2 separate regions of the Homo sapiens genome follow, and region 1 is linked to region 2. Evidence: promoter capture Hi-C in human tissues and cell types (Jung and others, 2019). All regions are on one chromosome and are shown on one strand. Each heading gives the region's core, a stretch centred on a gene start or on the middle of the fragment in contact. The rest is flanking DNA. Distances are from core to core; before and after follow the strand shown. Region 1 overlaps DVL3 (dishevelled segment polarity protein 3). Region 2 holds the start of EIF2B5 (eukaryotic translation initiation factor 2B subunit epsilon).

What was found. Contacts are between HindIII fragments. The study calls those that stand out against the background at their distance.
Region 1: a fragment that was not itself captured here is called in contact with the fragment with the promoter of EIF2B5 in region 2 in 4 of the 25 tissues and cell types used here (dorsolateral prefrontal cortex, hippocampus, neural progenitor cells and 1 more).

What each region holds. Positions count from the first base shown.
Region 1 is chr3:184,168,859-184,173,581 of GRCh38, reverse strand. It overlaps DVL3 (dishevelled segment polarity protein 3), which reads right to left. Exons shown (of 15, transcript NM_004423.4): 14 at 3,361-3,576; 15 at 1-3,263. The coding sequence ends at 2,827. Among named protein-coding and RNA genes, the nearest start is that of AP2M1, 3.6 kb to the left of the region's middle. RefSeq lists an enhancer at 1,747-2,041. The HindIII fragment of the contact is 7,229 bases long and covers 1-4,723 here.
Region 2 is chr3:184,133,788-184,137,094 of GRCh38, reverse strand. EIF2B5 (eukaryotic translation initiation factor 2B subunit epsilon) reads right to left here and starts at 1,737. Exons shown (of 16, transcript NM_003907.3): 1 at 1,515-1,737; 2 at 359-483. The coding sequence starts at 1,709. It overlaps EIF2B5-DT (EIF2B5 divergent transcript), which reads left to right and starts at 1,834. Exons shown (of 2, transcript NR_183721.1): 1 at 1,834-2,559; 2 at 2,817-3,307. RefSeq lists enhancers at 1,388-1,457, 1,778-1,837, 2,707-3,307 and a silencer at 1,528-1,637. The HindIII fragment of the contact is 14,690 bases long and covers 1-3,307 here.

The sequences.
Region 1 (4,723 bases), core at 1,940-4,439, 35 kb before region 2:
CTACTCTACTGTGTGCCAGGCACTGTGCTAGGCACTTTTCGTACAATATCTAATTTAAATCCTCACAACAACCCTGTGAGGTAGGTATTATTATCATCATTTTACATACGAGGGAACTGAGGCTCAGAGAGGTTAAATAACTCTATCACACAACCAAAAATAGTAGAGCTGGAATTCAAACCCAAAACCACCTAACTCCAAATCCCATGCTCCAATGAATTAAAGTAGAGAGGGGAGAGGGAGGGCCAAATTCAAGACAGAGTGTTGGAGTGAAATGGATATGATATGCTGATAAGATATGGGAAGAAGGAATGTAAGCTCATAAATGTTTCTAGCTGGTGAGCCTATGTAGATTGTGATGAAGTAACCAGGAGAGGAATTCAGGAGGAACATACTTGGTTGGGCAGATGAGTTGAGTCTATACGGAACTGTCCATAGAGATGTCCAGTAGGTAATACCAATACAGATCTAAAGTCTGGGGGAAGTTGGGGGTTGGAGCTATGTATTTGGGAATCACCAGCATATCAGCAGCAATTGAGGACATCAGGATGAATGACTCCATTTTGGGAGTAAATAGAAAGGAAAGAGAAGTGAATCAAAGATGGAACGATGGAAGCACTGATACTGACAGGCATGAGCAATCGTTGAGAAATTCTCAAGAGAGTCGGACAAGACAGAGTCAGAGAGAGAAGTACATGAAACAGCCCTGTAGTGGTGGCTAGAAGCCATGGACTGGGTTGGGAACAATTCTAGAGCTCCCAGAAGGCAGGCAAGATTGAGTCACACTTCCAACAAAGCCCTCTGCACACCAAAACCCCAGGAAGTATTGTTTTTCTTTGTTAGTTTGCTTTTGAGACAGAATCTCACTCTGTCACCCAGGCTGGAGTGCGATCTCAACTCACTGCAACCTCCGCTTGCTTCCTGGATTCAAGCGATTCTTGTGCCTCAGCCTCCTGAGTAGCTGAGATTACAGGCAGGTGCCAAAACACCCATCTAATTTTTGTATTTTTAGTAGAGACAGGGTTTTGCTATGTTGGCCAGGCTGGTCTCGAACTCCCGACCTCAAGTGATCCACCTGTCTCAGCCTCCCAAAGTGCTGGGATTACAGACGTGAGCCACCGCACCCGTCCAAGGAAGTATTGTTAATTGAAATAAATGCCAAAATGTTCCTACCTTGGTTTACCCCAAAACCTGGAGCTAAGAACTTCATCTCACTTTTGACACCCCAGCCCCCAAAATATGGAAGCCCAGGAGAGCCAGGAGAATTTATAGCAGAGGCTTAAAGAGAAAGTTATGATTTGTTTAAAGTAGAGAATAAGGTGAAAAATAAAACCTGGTACTCTGTCTGGAAGTCCTGGAAGTCTCCTTGCCCAACCTCAACTGGCCTGTGGGCTCCTGTGTCCTTGCTCTGGGATGCCATGGTGAATGTGAAAACAGGGGAGGTTGTGTGTGGGGGTGGGAATGGCCTGTCGGTTGCAAGGCGAGTCCTTTGCTGAGCCCAGCCTGAGACCCAGCTTATGGGCTTTATCCAGGTGAGAAAATGCTGGGGACATGTGTGCGAGGTTTAAGGTCTACCAGGAAGGGGAGAAGGGTGTCAGGGGACCAGCCCCACAACCTAGGAGAGGATTAGGAGGGTCCAGCCCTTTGGGCAGGGACCAGCCCTGAGGCTTAAATGAACTTGCATAGGCACCTGTGTATGCATCTCTGTGCATGTATGCATACATGAGTGAGAGAGAAAGATAAAGAGAGCTAAAGAGGCCCCCCTCCCCCCGCCGCAGGCTGCCACACGTGGTGCGATCCGATTCTCTCTGGAAAGGAGGAGAGTCTCTCATGCATGGGTGAAGTTGGGCCCTCCCCAGAAGCCTAGTGACTCATTATGTTAACGTGTGGGTGTGGGGGCTGGACATCCTTGGGAAGCCCTGAGGGGCTGCTGAAGCAGGGTTCCTGGTCTCCTCGGAGGCTGGGCCTCCCCTCGCTGGGGGCTCACAGAAAGTCAAACAGCCCGAAATTCTTGGCTGCTCCAGGCCCAGGGTAAATTGGGGGAGGAAAAAAGAAAGAAAAGAAATGTTTCAGGCCTGGAGGTGAGATGAGCCTGCTGGTTAGTAGGGTTAGGGGTCTGAAGGAACCAGCACGCAGGGCAGGCATGGGGCAGGGGTAGAGCAGAGATGCTCCCTGGAAGCCACCAGCTGCTCAGGCAACTGAGGGGGCCCTCTGGGCCTCTGATCTAGGCACAGGCAGGGATGGCATGGATGGCTATTGGAGGCGACTACAGCTTTAGGTTGCAGGACTGAGGCAGCAGGCAGGGGGATGGTTAGTAGGGGCAGATGAAGCAAATATATTTTGGTTTCAGTAATGTGGGGTAAAGTCAAGAGGTTTGCACACGTGCCTGATGGGGTGGGGTTAATAGAGGGATGATGTAGCTGAATAAATGGTGAAAGGGAGCTAAAGGGGAAACGAGAGAATGAGGGAGTGAGCGTGCCACCAAGGTCATTGCTGGGGTCAACTCCCAAAATGGGGGTTGCAGAGGGGAGTAAGGGGTAGCACCAACAAGTCTGGTCCCAGAGACAAAAGGGGTCCTGGGAAGTCCTGCGCAGGGATTAGTGGGCAGAGGAAACGAACTGGGGCCAGAGGCAGGTTAGGGGGCTGCAGAGCCAATCGGTAGGTGCACCCCACCCTCGCAGCACCCTGCGAGCAGTTAGCGCACCTGGATTTAGTTCCTTTTATTTCCCTTTCAGGTACCAGACAAAGTAAAAAAGACGGACGGATGGAGAGAGGAACGCAGCCGGCTGGGGTGGGAGCGGAATGGAGCTGGGGGAGGGGCCCTGCTCACATCACATCCACAAAGAACTCACTGGGGTTTCCCATGGCCATGCGGAAGGACTGTCTGCTGGCGGTCAGTTCCGGGGGCACTGAGGCCAGGTCGCGGCCCGGAGGGGCTCCTGGGGGCCCCATGGCCGCGGGCGGCGGGGGCATCATCAGCATGGGGGGGCCGTAGAGAGGGGGCACTCCGGGAGGACCGTAGCTCGGGTGTGTGTGGTGGCTGCGAAGGCTGCTGGCCAGGGAATGGTGGCTGCGGTGGCTGTGCTCGCTGGCCGCCGGCCCTGAGCGCTCGCTGGGCGCCCGCTCCCGCGGCCCCCGCAGGCTGCTGCGTGTGGTGTGGTCCGATTCGCTGCCGCTGCCCCCGGACTTGGAGTCCCCGGCCTTCGGGTCCTTCTCCTTCCTCCGATCGCTGCCGCTACGGTTGGAGCCACTGCTCCGACTGCCTGTAGGAGGCAAACAGGGCCGGGGTGGGGCAGGCTGAGCGGGCGGGGGAAGCCTGGGGCCCACCTATAGCCTTCCTCCACGGCCCCTCTACCTTACCTTCGCTGTGCTGACTGCTGGCGCTGCCCCCGCCGTAGCTGTAGCCCAGCTCCGGGAAGCCCGGGTGCGGGTTGTATGGGTGCGGGGGTGGCGGGTACTGGTACGGGAAAGCCATGGGCCAAGGGGCGGCCCCCGGGTGCGGCAAAGGGGCCAGTGTGTCCTGGTCAGAGGCGCCACTGGAGCCATCGTGATCGTGGAGAGACAGGTTGGCCATGTCTGTGAAGGGGAGGGCCGGATGGAGCTAGGTCTTTCCGGAGAGAGGTCCCTAGCCTAGGTCAGGTGGGCTCTGGATGAGAGAGACCGTGGTAGTTTCTGGCTAGAATGAGAGGAGGCACAGCCCAGAGAGCTCCCCCCTTCTGCAGACCCCCTTTGCCACCACCAGAGCCAGCCCCGGGGAGACCCTTCTCAGGACAACCCTGAGTCATCATTCTAGGTTCTCAGCCAAAGCTGTACCTCCCAATCCCTTGAAGGCCCTGGCCAAGCTTTTGCACTTTCTCTGCTGGCCTCAGTGGGCTAGAAGCGGCAAAACTCTTTGAGACGGAGTCTTGCTCTGTGGCCAAGGCTGGAGTGCAGTGGTACAGTTTCAGCTCCCTGCAACCTCTTCCTCCCTGGTTTAAGCGATTCTCCTGCCTCAGCCTCCTGACAGGGTTGCACCACCACACCTGGCTAATTTTTTTTTTTGTATGTTTAGTAGATACAGGGTTTTGCCACGTTAGCCAGGCTGGTCTCCAACTCCTAACCTCAGGTGGTCTGCCCGCCTCAGCCTCCCAAAAGGCTGGGATTACAGGCGCGAGCCACTGCGCCCGGCCTGCAAAACTCTTATGTGGCCATTTTCTCTTCCGTTCACTCAGCTGGTGCAAGACTGGAGAATTTGGAAGGCTGAAATACTAGACAGCCACCAGGTATGTCGCACCTGAAGTTCATGAGGCACAATAGCGAACACTACCTTCAGCTCAGCCTAAACTAATCAGAACAGACGCGAAGAGTAGCTTACTTTCTCCTTACCTTCTCAGATGAGGTCATTAATTAGGACAAGGAGCAGTTTGGGAAATTTAGGTAAAGTGTTACCCACCCCTTCACCTAGAACTAAATACCCACTAAAAGCCTAGAATGAGTGCAGGGCCTTCCAGAGATTCCCTATATAGAAGGTACTTGGCCCTGATTATACTTTCCCAGTGCTGCTGGGCAGGGTGAGTAGGGTGGGAAGGGGCCAGAAGGAAAGAACAACTTAGGTGCCTCCCCCACTGCTCTCCACCCCGTTCCCAGCCAGGCCTAGCTCTTCATAGCACTGTCTCACTCCACCAACATTACTCATCTCACGATCCTGGCGCCCCCGGGGAAATTATACATTCCTTAATGGCAA
Region 2 (3,307 bases), core at 488-2,987:
CCTTGAAGGTGAGAACAAACAAGATTTAGAAACTCAGTGGGAAAACAAAGATGTTATCATTGTAACTTCCATACTGAAGCCATTAAATAAAAGCAAAGTCCACTGGCACCAAACTTTATAATGAGATTCAGAAAAAACCCAAGTTTATTCTTTAATCTTTGTCACAGAAAACCCAAGACAGACAGATACAAAGTTTCAGCTGCTCACCTCCTGATAAGTGTAGAAAATACCCTTAGAACTTACAATGACATCTAAGTAGACACATTTTTCCCCTCTCACATTTCCCCTTAGTTACATTCATCCTGAAAAAACTGGAAAAAGATGGCGAAACATGGAAAGAAAAGTTGCAGGGCCTTACAGTAAATGTTCTTTGATTTGAGCAGCTTTCCAGCAACAAAAGACAAATGTTTCCTGTACACCTGTGGCAGTCAGGAATTCCAGAGTGTAGTCAATTAATGCCACATTGGCCAGGGGCAAGAGGACCTGAAGGATACAAGATGAAAAAAAACTTGAGGTCTCGAATCCCTTTGGGTACCCCACTGCAACAATTTTCACTCCTCTATTCGTATTTCCAAACAGTGTAATTTTGCTGTATCTTTCCAATTCAAAGATAAACAGGTTCCTGCCTTTGATGTTCATGCCATGCTCTAAGCCTGAGTCTGAGACATTGCAATTTGGGGATGGTAAGTACAGAATCTATGTGCCTTGTATCAGACACAGAGCTGTGACAGAATGGCAGTTCACTGCTGGCAAAGGATAATACTGGAAATCAATCATATTTCCATAAATTTAAGCATTGCTAAGGCCTTCTTCCCCATAAGATTTCCTTCCTTGATCCCTTTCTAAGTGTCAGAGGTTAGCCATCTCCCGTCACTTGTCAAAAATGAACAGCCATTAGGCTTTTTCGAGGGAATTAGAGAGGATTTTCCTTAAATCCAATGCAGTTCCCTCTTTCTGAACTGACTGCTGAACGACCCAGCTGAGTCCAATACCCCATTGTCTAGACAACTCGGGGGCTGATGGCAATCAACCACTAAACCCATTTTGTCCTTTCGACAGATAGCACCGGCTATCATTAGAACCTGGAAGGAAAAAAAAAATACACTGCCTGAGATCTAGCCCGCTCTTTTTAAGGCATATTACCGCCCTTTCAGAGGCAAAAGGTCGTTTCTTTTCACCTAAGCAACCGTCATCGGCAAGGTTAAAAGCGGCGCAGCCTCTTCTAGGGGCACTGAATCCCCGCGTGAAGGCTTCTCTCAAGCGCTGTTTCTACATTTAGCTCTCTTCATTCCTTTCAAACCCGAGGTGGACAGCATTACGAATGCCCAAATCTGCCGGCCACTAACTTGGTCAGCAGTCATCAGGGTTTAGACAGTCCCTCTGCATCCGGTTTTAGGATAACAGCATAGACGCAGGTCCTTCAAGGGCATGCTGTTGTAGTTAGCCGAAATGAGAACTTGCTCCAGCCCTGCCACCCTTCCTGCCCTCTGGCTGCTCGCGTGCGCGGCGCTCACCCGAGGCTGGTCCTTGGAGATGGGGAAGAAGCGGCGATCGAAGCTATCGGCCACCAGAACTGCTTGTAGGGGCGGCGGCGGTTCCTCCTCCGCCCCTCTGGCTCCCCCGCCACCGCTGCCTCCCGGCCCCGCGCCGCTGCGCTTGTTAGCCCGACTAACCACCACACCAGGCGGCGCCACTACAGGGGCCGCCATCTTCTTCTCTCACGGTCACCACTTCCGCAAGGAAGCTGCCACCGCACGCAGTAGGGGACAAAAAGGATCCAGCACTTGAAATGCGATGGACTAATTAACGAAGGGAAGGAGACGAGGAGGGAGCAGTGCGCATGCGTCTTCCCCGGGAGCCCACAGGGGTCTGAGGTTGATCCCGGAGGCGCGAGGAGTCGGTACGGGTCACGGTTGTCCCGGCCCCTGAGGCGCAGGGTAGGAGTGGGGTCCCATAGATGTCAGACTCGGTCTGCAAGTATCGTCGGCCTTCATTTGTAGGTGAACAAGCCGAGATTCTTGTGGCGTGATAGGACTTGTGGTCGCCACGAAGGGGCCAGCTCCATCGGGAATCTGTAATCGCCCAGCAGTTTCCCCGCCCCGCGCATGTGAAATATGTAGCCCTCCGTATTCATTCTAGAAACTTCTGGGAACCCAGCGCCTTGGGGAGATAGAACCGAGCCAGATGTTCCCCCGCTGCGAGGAACTCAGAACCTGCATAAATAGAGAAGGTGGCAGGCATATAGTAGGGAGACCAGTAATTCCATTGAGCGCTGATTTTGGGCCAGGCACGATACAAGCATTATCTCTGCAAAACATCTTATTCATTCGTTCAGCAAACGTTTCTTGAACTCTCAGAAGGATGAAGGAAGTTTACCCAGCTAGTAAGTGGAAGAACTGGTATTGGAACCCGATCTGTCTGACTGCAGAGTTCCACAATCTTGCTGCCAAGTTATGTGGGGATAACAATGACTATTTTATGTCATCTATTCATTCTTCCAGCCTATCAGCCTCCTGTGTCTTAAGCAGAGTGGAGACGGGGGTGGATCCAGGCGCACCAGTAAGTTGTACTGGAGTTAAGCAGTAAGCTTTCTGGGCAGAGGAAAGTGCGGGCGTAAAGGTCCAAGGCTTGAAAAGGCGCAGCAGCACCTTTTTCTCTTTGGGGAAAGAAGCGGTGGCTGCGGGGAATAAACCAACTCTGTAGAGGGGCGGGGCCGTGGGAAAGCGGTGGAACGGGGCAGGAAGGCTGGGCGTCATTTGGGAGGCAAGGAACTTTTCTGTAAGGCATAGCGCCCTTTCTGCACGGGACCTGTCCAGGTTCCACGCCACAGGCTTCTGCAGTTCCTGCAAACTGTTCCCATCCCGCCCCGCGTTGCACGTCGGGATTTGGAGTTCGCGATGCTGAGAGCTGTTTCCACGTGGCGATTCCGACTTGACCCGTCGTGCTCCGGCGCCCGCCTAGGGGGACCGAGGAGTTTGTCATTTCTTGCCTCGTTAGGGTGCGGAACGAAAACCATTTGATTTATCCTAGAAAAGGAAAGGCTGAAGCCAACTAAGTAAAAGTTTTCCATTAAATGAATGCACGTTGTAGAAAAGGAATGTTCAACTGCCCTACAAATCCAGAGGTAGAAATGGGGGAGGGGAGAAGGAATTAAATAGGACACACACACACACACACAAACACACACACACACACACTCTTGGGGGGGTGTTTGGGTATGGAAAGTAGGTCCGATTGCAGAATTTATTTTAAATGATTCCCGCAACCTTGGGAAGTTGGGAAGTGGTGAATCCGCTGCCGAAAGGCA